Regions from separate parts of the Homo sapiens genome. Here region 2 is linked to region 1. Evidence: promoter capture Hi-C in 16 types of primary human blood cells and fetal thymus (Javierre and others, 2016). All regions are on one chromosome and are shown on one strand. Each heading gives the region's core, a stretch centred on a gene start or on the middle of the fragment in contact. The rest is flanking DNA. Distances are from core to core; before and after follow the strand shown.

What was found. Contacts are between HindIII fragments. The CHiCAGO score rates a contact against its expected background, and 5 or more counts as called.
Region 2: a fragment that was not itself captured here is called in contact with the fragment with the promoter of FAM124B in region 1 in 16 of 17 cell types (megakaryocytes, fetal thymus, erythroblasts and 13 more); the score reaches 12.4 in megakaryocytes.

The regions. Positions count from the first base shown.
Region 1 is chr2:224,398,123-224,404,002 of GRCh38, forward strand. It overlaps FAM124B (family with sequence similarity 124 member B), which reads right to left and starts at 3,985. Exons shown (of 2, transcript NM_001122779.2): 1 at 2,915-3,985. The coding sequence starts at 3,646. The HindIII fragment of the contact is 5,745 bases long and covers 448-5,880 here.
Region 2 is chr2:224,641,568-224,647,499 of GRCh38, forward strand. All of the region lies in intron 2 of LOC105373909 (a long non-coding RNA gene), which reads left to right. Among named protein-coding and RNA genes, the nearest start is that of CUL3, 59 kb to the left of the region's middle. The HindIII fragment of the contact is 160 bases long and covers 2,480-2,639 here.

The DNA.
Region 1 (5,880 bases), core at 2,735-5,234:
AGTCTTGCTCTGTCATCTAGGCTGGAGTTCACTGGCACAATCTCGGCTCACTGCATCCTCTGCCTCCCTGGTTCAAGCGATTCTCCTGCTTCAGCCTCCCGAGTAGCTGGGACTACGGGTGCACACCATCATGCCCAGCTAGTTTTTGTATTTTCAGTAGACAGGGGGATTTACCATGTTGGCCAGGCTGGTCTCAAGCTCCTGGCCTCAAGTGATCCACCTGCCTCAGCCTCCCAAAGTGCTAGTATTACAGGCCTGAGCCACCACGCCCAAGAATTTTCTATCCTGAAAAATTCACTCCATTCAAAGAATCAAAAGCTATCTAGGAGCTACAATGTGTTGTCTTTGGATTATGGCTGAGCCTTTACACACTTTCCTCAGGCACTTTTATTATATGACACCAGAAGCAGAATTTTCCAGAAGGCGATCTCTCACTCTGTTTGCAAAAGCTTAGACTCATTGACTTAACAAGAGGAGATCAAAGCGTGTTTTGGAGTGAGGAAGCAGAAGTCTCTGAGGTTTGGAGGTCAGGACAAAGGTGATGTCCAAGGGGGCTATCAAGAGTGAGAGGCAGCTGGGCGTGGTAGCTCATGCCTATAATCCCAGCACTTTGGGAGGCTGAGGCAGGTGGTCACTTGAGGCCAGATGTTTGAGACCAGCCTGGGCAACATAGTGAAACCCCATCTCCACTAAAAATACAAAAATTAGCTGGGCATGTTGGCAGGCACCTGTAGTCTCAGCCACTTGGGAAAGCTGAGGCACAAGAATTGCTTGAACCCGGGAGGCAGAGGTTGCAGTGAGCTGAGATCACACCATTGCACTCCAGCCTGAGCAACAGAGAGAGACTCTGTCTCAAAAACAAAAGAGTGAGGGGCTGATGCCCCATTCACACCTGAGAAGTGGCCAGGCTCCTGGGACAATCCAGAGAGGAAGAGGGCTCTTTTCATACAATTCATGGAGTTTCTCTTTATCCAAAAAACTCTTCTACACTCCCCAAATGTGACTCAACTTTCCAAAGTAACTAAGTTGTTTAAACTGTGGTTCCATAGCAAAAATGTCAGTCAGCCTTAAAGACAGGAATGATTAAAATCATGTCCCTTGCTGCACACACACATTACATTTTTGTTTGACCATGAGGTTGATTTTAAGTACTAGAGAGTCGCTAAAACTGAAAGAAATTTTAGATGCCTTGGAAATTATGGGGTTTTATAATAGGCAACTAACAGAAACAGTGCCTGTCTACCTTATGTGAGCAAGAAGGTGAATAATTTAGAAATCATTTAATATGGAATATGATTCATGTTTTATTAACAAGTCAAAGTGATGACAACAAAATTAACCAAATGGAAAGACATCTCATCTTGTAGTCTCTTATTACTTTATTCAATAGGCCTTAAGGAGCTTCTGACCATTTCTTAAGGACAGAAGCCACAGGATATTTTGCTGTGAACATGACATTCATCCCCCTGCTTGCACATTTACACACATACACTGGACTGCAGCGGCTGACCACATGAACTTTGAGGGTAGATAGATACTTCCTATCTTGGGCAAATAACTGACCCCCTGGAAAGCTCAGTTTTCTTATCTCCAAAATGGGAAAAATAGTAACTTCATAGGTTGTTATAAGTATTAAATAAAATTATCAATTTAAGAGAATCCTTAGTATAGGGCATAATATGAACAATAATAGCTAAAATTGAGTTCTTGGCACTATCTTAATTATGTACTTTATAAGTGTCAGGTCATTTCCTGTAAGTAAGTATGAGAGAGGAAGATGCTAATTCTCGGGTGCCTTTATTGTGCTAATGAAGAAACTGAGGCCCACAGTCATACAGCTACTAAGTGCCCAGGCTCACATACCATGGAAAGGCAATGCACGGCAGCTATCATGACTAAATACACACATGCTATGTTAGGTTTTCGAGGATGGTTACAAAGGAAGGCTTTAATTTCAAGTTTTTTTAAGAAAGCATTCTATCTAACTTGGTATGTGGTAAAATTTGACAGTGATGCAAGATGCTTAAAAATTAAGTCAATACGAGTTGATGGGTGCAACAAACCAATATGGCACATGTATACCTGTGTAACAAACCTGCACTTTGTGCACATGTACCCCAGAACTTAAAGTATAATAATAAAGAATAAAAATTAAGTCAATAGTACTGCAAACTTAACATCCCTAAACAAGCTCGGCCAACATAGTGAGACCCCGTCTCTAGAAATAAAATAAAATAGCCAGACATGGCGGCACGTGCCTGTAGTCCCAGCTAATCAGGAGGCTAAGGCAGGAGGATCACTTGAACCCAGAAGGTGAAGACCTCAGGGAGCTATGATGGCACCACCGCACTCGAGTCTGGGCAACAGAGGAAGACTCCCATCTCTAAAAAATAAAAAAATTAAAAATTAAAAAAACCATATCTAAACATAAGTATGACTTCAACTTCCTTAAGTCAGATTAGAAGAGCTTGTGACATTCCTGAGCCCAAAGAGTAAACAAAGGATAGGGGTATAGTTGATGGGCATTTAAACGGCAAGCCTGAGAAAGGAGGCCGATTCTTTAATAGGATTCTGATCTTTATAGTAGAATCCTGTCTGATTCTACTATAAAGTACTTGTGTCAGCTGCAAATTCATGGAATCTGAACTTTCTTATCTGTCAGATGAGATTTTATGAGATCAGTGATTCTCAACCCTGTTACAGATTACAGTCATCCAAGAAGCTGTAAAAAAGTTACCTAGGCCTGGATGTTCCCAGAGATTCGGATCAAACTGCCCTGGGGTGGGAATTTATGAAAGACCCTAAGGGACGCTAATATGCAACCAAGTCTGAGAACCACTAGCTTAGGCCCATTCCGATGTAAAATTACACAGCTCCATGAGCCTCTACAAGATCTGAGACAAAACAGAAATACCTGAAGCAGAATCTTGTTGCCATCGTAGTCCTGAGTCTGCCACCTGGTGCTGCTGATAGGCATGCATGGATTGGGTAGCAGAGGCACTAACTGGCCGATCTCTTGAACCTTAAACTGCAGCACCGAAGACTCTTTGGGGTCCACTGACATTCCCGGGGGCAGCTGCTTCAGGGAGAGCTGCAGAGCAAAGCTCTTGGAGGCATAGAGCACGAAGAAACAAAAATTGCTCTTTTGCAAGGTCGCTTCTCTCTGCAGGATCATCTCGTAGAGTCTGATGGCGTCTTCATAGTTATCAAAACTGCAGTACAGCGTCACCCTCAGGATCTCGGAGCCACAGTGCACCTGCCTCACCCCCCAGATGGGCAGCTGACTGTCCAGGCTGTAGAACTCCTGATTGGCAAAAAAGTAGGGACACAGCCTTCCCCGAGTGTCCTGGGTGGGGTAGCACTGCCATGGCGAATGCTGGAGAGAGTCCAGGACGCGAAATAGCCTATCCTCTCCCGGGCTTTCGTGCAGGAAGAGCAACACGGACATCCCTGGAAACCGGGACCGCTTGGAATGGGACTTTTCACAGTATTTCACAGGACTGGCCCGTTCAGACACCTGAAAGAGCCGGACCTCTGGGCAAATGCAATCCAGGAGCTGGTCCAGAGTCCTCTGCAGAAGGGAGCCGTGCCCAGAGTTGGCAAGAAGATGGACAGTCATGGCCAGAGGCCCCTGTGTCTCATCCATGGAGGAACTGCCTGAGGCTGACAAAGACAGCGTGTGTAGAAGGCCCACTGTTCAAGTTTCTGAAATGAATGAAGAAGCGGCCCAGCCTTCAGCCCGCCTGAAAACCTTCAGCTGCAGCGGCTACTTCTGAGCAGAGCTCTTAACCAGACTAACACGTGCTCCTGGCCACCCGTGGACTTACGGCAAGAGAAGCTCACACCAGCTCGGGTTCAGCAGCCTCCCTCTCCACACAGCAGCAGCGGGGTCACGTCATCCAGCTTGTGCATAATGTAACTGCTTGTGTTTAGCCTTTTCAGGCGTTCCCCAGGGTTTCTGCGTGACCTAAAAACCTATAATCCTGAGAAACACCCAAATGGGCGGCTCTTATAGACACTTAGTACAGGAAATGACCGGCCGAAAAGGAACATGAGTTGGCTCTGTTAGGCTGATAGCAATCTGTTTAGTTGAAAAGACATCCATTTTATCAACTTACAACGGGTTCTCATTTCCTACTTACGGTTTACAGTAGCCTGCTCCACCAATCTGAATACAATGACTTCTTGAAAACAATTCTCAAAACCTGACCCTTTGCCAGTTTTTTTTTTCCTTTGTCTCTTTATTTCATTTTGTTTCTGAACATTTTCTGCTAGGGCACGAAGAGAAGACTTTATCTAAATAATTTTGACTTCACTGAAAATTATTTGCTGTACCGAAAATTCTGAGTGTACTAAAAAGACATTGAGAAAATTAGTCTTCCTTTATTCACGCAAATTCTTTAGAAAGAGTGAGAGCTTTCCTATAATTGCTCATATAATTATAATAATAAATAATTATAATTAACAATTGTAATTATAATTTTTAGTGTCTAATGAGGATCTACTATGTACCAGTCATAAACTGTTCTAATTCTTAAAGTAATTAGTTTTGTTTTGTTTTGGAGATGGAGTCTTGCTCTGTCGCCCAGGCTGGAGTGCAGTGGCGTGATCTTGGCTCACTGCAACTTCCACCTCCCAGGTTCAAGAGATTCCCCTGCCTCAGCCTCCCCAGTACCTGGGATTATAAGTGCGCCAACACGCCCAGCTAATTTTTTTGTATTTTTAGTAGAGACTGGGTTTTGCCATGTTGGCCAGACTGGTCTCGAACTCCTGACCTCAGGTGATCTGCCCGCATTGGCCTCCCAAAGTGCTGGGATTACAGGCATGAGTCACCACACCTGGCCCTTAATGTAAATTAATTTAATCTTGCAACAAACCTATGAAGAAGAGATTACTAGCCCCAAATTACAGATGAAGAAACTGGGGCATAGAAAGGCTAGGTAACTTGCCCAAGGTCTCACAGCTAAGAAGTAGCTGAAGGATGATTTGAACCCAGGAACTTGCTGCACTGCCTCTCTGGGGCCTTGAAGTCCCAGCCTGGGTATTCTTCTTGTAAGGAAAAGATATAAAAGCAAGTTCTGGTTAAGGATCTAGATTTGCAGACTCTTGAGCTGTTGAATCTTAAACGGAATAATCTTCAATGAGAAAGTTGTCAAGCTCTAAACACTCACCCTAAATGTGTTCTAAATATTGATTTAAAAATTATTTGTGGCCACGCATAGTCGTCACGCCTTGATCCTAGTACTTTGGGAGGCCGAGGCGGGTGGATCACCTGAGGTCAGGAGTTCGAGACCAGCCTAGGCAACATGGCAAAACCCCGTCTGTACTAAAAACACAAAAATTAGCCGGGCAAAGTGGAGCATGCCTGTAATCCCAGCTACTCAGGAGGCTGAGGCACAAGAATCACTTGAATCCAGCAAGTGGAGGTTGCAGATCGCACTACTGCACTCCAGCCTGGGTGATAGAGCAAGACTCCGTCTCAGAAAATAAAAAATAATAAAAATAAATAAATAAATAAATATTTTTAAAAAATCATTTGCTCTCCTGATAGCTGTGCTCCTCAACAGGTATGAACAAGCACTTTTTCTAAACACAATTCTTTTTAAAAGAGGCAATTGGACCAGGCGAAGTGGCTCACAACTGTAATTTCAACACTTTGGGAGGCCAAAGCAGGACAATCGCTTGAGCCCAGGAGTTCCAGGCTGTGCTGACCTAAATTCATGCCACTGCACTCCAGCCTGGACAACAGAGCAAGACCCTGTCTCAAAGAAAAAAAATGTACTTCAAAAAGAGCTGTAAAAAATTAAAATAAAAGAGGCAAATTTATGAATCCTTATAATGAAACACAGTGTGACAATTTTTTACATTAAAAAATACTTT
Region 2 (5,932 bases), core at 1,310-3,809, 240 kb after region 1:
TGATCTCGGCTCACTGCAGCCTCTGCCTCCCGGGTTCATGCAATTCTCCTGCCTCAGCCTCCCGAGTAGCTGGGACTATAGGTGCCCGCCACCATGCCCGGCTAATTTTTTAATTTTTAGTAGAGATGCAGTTTCTCCATGTTGGCTAGCCCCATGCCTGGCCCTGGGGACAAGTTCTTTTTAGCTCCACTTTTTTGTAGGAGAATGTGCAAGGATGGAACGTCATGTCAGTGAATCTCAGAGACAGCAGTCAAAGCCACAGAGCAGTGGGAGGAAAAATAACTCTGGCTTTGGGGTCAGTTCTGTTACTTTCTAGCTGTTTGGCCCATGTTACTTAAACTCTCAGCCTCAGCTTCCTTTTCTGTAAAATGGGACCACTAGTGTCCATTTCACAGGATCCATGAGATTATTAAATGCAATTGTGCGTGTAAATCAGTGGGCATGTAGTATCAACAAACACAGGTACTGTTTGTTGGGGGCTTAATTTGAGGCACTGTGCTGAGCTCCTTGTAGGCGCTTTAAATAAAATGACAAGTTTTCTTTCCACACTTTCTAATTTCCTTTTGTTTTCTTACTCTTATCTTCCTAAAGCTAGGAATATGATAGTGAGTTTATCACTTCATTCAAAAAATATATACTGAGCATTGTTTTCTTACTGGTTTTTTTAAATCTTCCCTAAAGCTAGGAATATGATGGTAAGTTTATAATTTCATTCTTTCATTTAGCAAATATTTATTGAGCAACTATTCTGTTCCAGGCCTGGTTCTAGGTTCTGAGGTCATAGCTCTGAACAACATCTGTGTTCTCATGGAGATTACATTCTAGCAGAAGGCTAACAAGAAACCAGCAAGCAAATATGTATACTAGAGAATTTCAGACAGTTCTCAGTGTGAAGGAAACAAAAAGGAACAGGGCAGTGTGAGATGGCAGAGTCATCAGGGATGAGGCAGGGGAGACAATGAAGAAGGGCTACCTTAGAAATTGTGACTGGGAATGAACCTTTAAGGAGGAGACATCAGAAAAGAAATAGGAGGGAAGAGAGAAAACAGCAATAGAAACATGCAGGAAAACAGAGTTGGAGGCAGAGTGTATGCAAGTGAAATGAACTTGGTGTGGTTTGAGGAGCAGGAAGAAGGTCAGGGTTCCTGGTGCTTGACAAACGAGAGCATTTGTGGAGTAAAGATGAAGAAGGAAATTGGGTCTTCTAGGACATGGCAAGAAATTTGAACTTTATTGTAAATGTGACAGGAGGGTTTTGAACATTGGAACCATGTGATTTGATTTATATTTTACAGGGAGTATTCATTTGGCTGTTTGAAAAGGAGACTGGAGAGGTTAAGGTGGCAAGGGAGCATGCAAAAGAATGAGTGAGAGGGCTAATGCGATACTCCTGGTGAGAGGTGACTGTGGTTTGGCCAATGCTTCTAGCAGCTGAGCTGGAGAGAAGAGGATGGATTTGGGATAAATTTTGGAGAGGAGCTGATAGGATCTATCAGATGGATAAAACACAGGAGTGAAAGAACAGAAGGAATAAAGGATGACTTCAGGCTTTTGGCTGAGCATTTGTTGATGGGAAATCCAGGGCGCTCTTAATGTTCCATTGTGTGTTTTAAAAGGGAGCAGTGTCTTGTATTGTACAAGATGCACTCAGTCCTGTATATGCTATTATCAGTGAGAAACAAGACTGGGCTATAGATTTGTTGGTATTAGAGAAGAGAGGTTGATTACTTCTTGAATCCTCTAGGATTTTTCCTTTATGGATACATGTGTTGGACTACTTTGTAAGTTTTGCTTCAATTATCCTCCAACTGTCCCATTTTCCTACTCTACTCGTGGCTCCCACTTCTGCTTCTTCTGCACCTCAGTAGAACAGGAGCAGCCTCCCAGGGCATGGCAAGTTCATTTGGCTTGGCATGGGCCCTGGACAATGGGTCTTGCCTTCAGGTGGTGTGACTTCTTGGCTTGGTGAATAGAAAATGCCATCCTAGGCCGGGCGTGGTGGCTGACACCAGTAATTCCAGCGCTTTGGGAGGCCGAGGCTGTCGGATCACCTGAGGTTAGGAGTTCGAGACCAGCCTGGCCAACATGGTGAAACACCATCTCTACTAAAAATACAAAGATTAGCCAGGCATGGTGGTGCACATCTGTAATCTCAGCTACTCGGGAGGCTGAGGCACGAGAATCACTTGAACCCTGGAAGCAGAGGTTGCAGTGAGCCAAGATGGCACTACTGCACTGCAGCCTGGGCGACAGCAAGATTCTGTCTCAAAAAACAAACAAACAAAAAATGCCATCCTGGCTGCCTGTGCTGATCCTGAACAAGGTTTGGGGGCTAGAGCAGAGCAGACCCCTACGCATGTCTCCTTTGGTTTAGGGTCTTTGGGGAAGGGATGCTGCAGCCATTGGTGATTGGTGGTACCGAAACCCCAGCCTAGCGGCTTTGGGCTGACTCTGTGGGAAGCTGGTGTCAACTGTAAAAAGCTTCTCATCTGCAGTGCTTTGACAAGTACTTTCAGGAGAGTTTCTTAATTCTCTGAGCTCTAATTCCCTCATCTGAAAGGCAGAGTAGTAATAATTATGGCTTCTTAGAGTTTTTATGAGAATTGACTTAATTTCAGAGGCAGTAAACAGCCCAGGTAAGCTTGGCTTCGAGTGTGGAGTCAGGCCTTTCAATTCCTTTCCATCTGGAATTTTGGGTGGTGGGACATGGGAACAAGTTTCTTACCCTCTCTGTGCCTCAGTTTCCTTATTCCCAATAAGAGAATAATAATGGTACCTTCTTGTTATGGTTGCTGTGAGAATTGGATGAAATATTTTATGGGAAATGCTTTAAACTGTGACTGGTATTTGATTATAGCACTTAAAAAATACCTGTTGAGGCCGGGCGCAGTGGCTTACGCCTGTAATCCCAGCACTTTGGGAGGCTGAGGCGGGCAGATCATGAGGTCAGGAGATCAAGACAATCCCGGCTAACACGGTGCAACCCCATCTCTACTAACAATACCAAAAAAAAAAAAAAAAAAATTTAGCCAGGCTTGGTGGCAGGCGCCTGTAGTCCCAGCTACTTGGGAGGCTGAGGCAGGAGAATGGTGTGAACCCAGGAGGTGGAGTTTGCAGTGAGCCAAGTACACGCCACTGCACTCCAGCTTGGGTGACAGAGCGAGACTCCATCTCAAAAAAAAAAAAAAGCTGTTGATAAAAGAGGCCCTTGATGAATGTCTATTATTTAAATAATTACGTCCATGAAAAGTACTTTAACAGCATTAAAAAGTTAGTTATTGTGGGGCTGGGCGTGGTGGCTCACAGCTGTAATCCCAGCACCTTGGGAGGCGGAGGCAGGCAGATCACAAGGTCAGGAGTTCGAGACCATCCTGGCCAACATGATGAAACCCCTTCTCTACTAAAAATACAAAAATTACCCGGGCGTGGTGGCGCACGCCTGTAGTCCCAGCTACTTGGGAGGCTGAGGCACAATAATCACTTGAACCCGGGACGCGGAGGTTGCAGTGAGCAAAGATCGCGCCACTACACTCCAGTCTGGTGACAGAGCGAGTGAGATTCAGTCTAAAAGAAAAAAAAGTTATTGTGTTAAATTTTATTACATCCTCCATTATCCTTGCTGATTTTGTGTTCCAGAAATAATTACAACATTATCACACAAATCTAATCTCTGGGATCTAAATGAGAGGATCACACACTCAGATGGCTACAGGGGCGAGACAGGTCACACAAATAAATGAGGGTGCAAGCTCTGCGATGAAGGGTCCACAATCAGAATCAGATCTGTTAAAATAGGCTATGGCCAACTATTTCAATACCAGCAGTATCACTTGCAGATTCTTTCAGAGAAGCTGGAAATCTGAAATTTTTATTAATAGATGAGATTTCTGGGTTTATTAATGTTAGCAGTTTAACCAAAGAGTTTAGAAACACCTTGTTGGCTAAAGAAATGTATGTTTCAGGGGAGTGGCCTTGACCCACAGACCACCAGTTTAGAAATGCTGATCTAGACTACTGCAGATTAGTTTGTGAGACCAGCCAGAAATAGGATCCAGAAAGGTCAATATACATGGGAGAATGGTTAGAGCACCAGGAACCACTGGAGTGACAGGCTCAGGTGGGTGGATCCTCAGAAGCTGCTCTGGGGCAGGAGAAAGACTGGACTTGGGAGCAAGAAGGATGCTGAAAAGATGAAGCCCGTGACCGAAGGTGACCTGGGCATACTTGACAAGCTAATCTAGGGCTGGCCCCAATGCCACAGATATCTGTATTTTGAATACAGGTTGTTTTTACTTCCTTGGCAATCAGGTTACACAGAGGCAGTATTGTTCAATTCCTATGGCTTCCCGGGACCTGAATTGCACCTGCTGTGCATAACGATGGCATCATCCATAATTAGGCAATGACTTGCTTTTGTCTTGAGGCTTCTATGGGCCTTACCTGATGCAGGCATTCTGGAGGGAGTGTAAGTGGAAAGACTCTAGCAGAGTCAGGTAATATAATTCAGCACACTAAAGTGAACTATGGAACAGGTGCACATACAATGCAATAGCTCAGTTTCACTTTTAATGACTTGCATTATCACACAGCTATTTGGTTATCGTTTTCATAACTCAACAATCTCAAATTAAGACTTTACTATACTTATATAATGGTCTTCTATCCATGGGCAGAGACAAGCAAGGTACAAAATCAGGGGGGAAAATGAAGGCTAAATATGTATTACTAATATTCAAAATGAGAATCAAACATTTGTTATTTAAAAGTTATAGGACAATAGCAGTTGATGAGTGGTTCTTAACGGGGGCAATTTTACCACCACCAGGGGACATTCGCAATGTTTGGAGACATTTTTGGTTGTCACAACTGAGGGTAGCGTTTGCTACTGGCATCTAGTGGTAGAGACTGGGGATGTTTCAGAATATCCTACAATGTACAGGAAGACCCCCAACAATGATCAGCCCCAACATATCAACAGAGACAAGGTCAAAATAGTTCGAAATATGCAATAGTTTGAAAGAAAAAAATTCATCTGCATGTAACTTTAGAAATGAAACTAGGGCGTAAATTAAAGGCAGCCATGCATATGCACGTAAATTAAAAGGTTAAAGGTGTGCATATGTGTGACTGATTACAGCAAATTGCTGTCTCTTCATGAACTCTTAGCTGAATTAATCAAACCAATTATATATGTAGGAAGCAACCTACCTCCTCCGATAACAAGAAAATCATTTTCGCATGCAGCTTTAAGCACGTGGAAGGCCCCCAAAAGATGAATGTGCTGATGACATGCAGAGCAAAAATCATACGAAGAGGAAAAACTTGAAGAGCAAAACCTAGGGTCCTTGATCCTTCCAAGTGGACCCACCAATTGTGTCTTCTCCACTCATTGCTCCCAGTGTGTGGTAGAGTTGATCTCCTTTGACATCTTGCTTTACTAACAGATGCTTTAAATATAAAACAAGTTCAAAGACAGGTAAACAGAAGCTGAGGCTTTCATGCAGTAGAGTGTACTGTGGCTAAGTTATCTGTCAAGTACAATGTTTACTCAGTTGAGATACCTCTCAATTGAAGATGCGGGCCATTATTTCCTAAAGGGGAGTTCTACCCTGAAGTATAGTCTGAGCTGTTAAGGACAGAGGATAACATAAAATAGCTGAAAAGTTTGGGATATTGAGATAAAATGCTGAATTTCGTATTGAGATAAAATGCTGAATTTCATGAAGCATCTAATAGAAAAGAAGCAAGATTGAGGGTTTTAGGTTTTGCATTTTTTTTTTTTTGAGACTGTCATGCTCTGTCACCCAGGCCGGAGTACATTGGTGCTATAGTGGTGCTGTCACTGCAGCCTCCGCATCCTGGGCTCAAGCTATCCTCCCACCTCAGCCTCCCAAGTAGCTGGGACCACAGACACATGCCACCACCCCCAGCT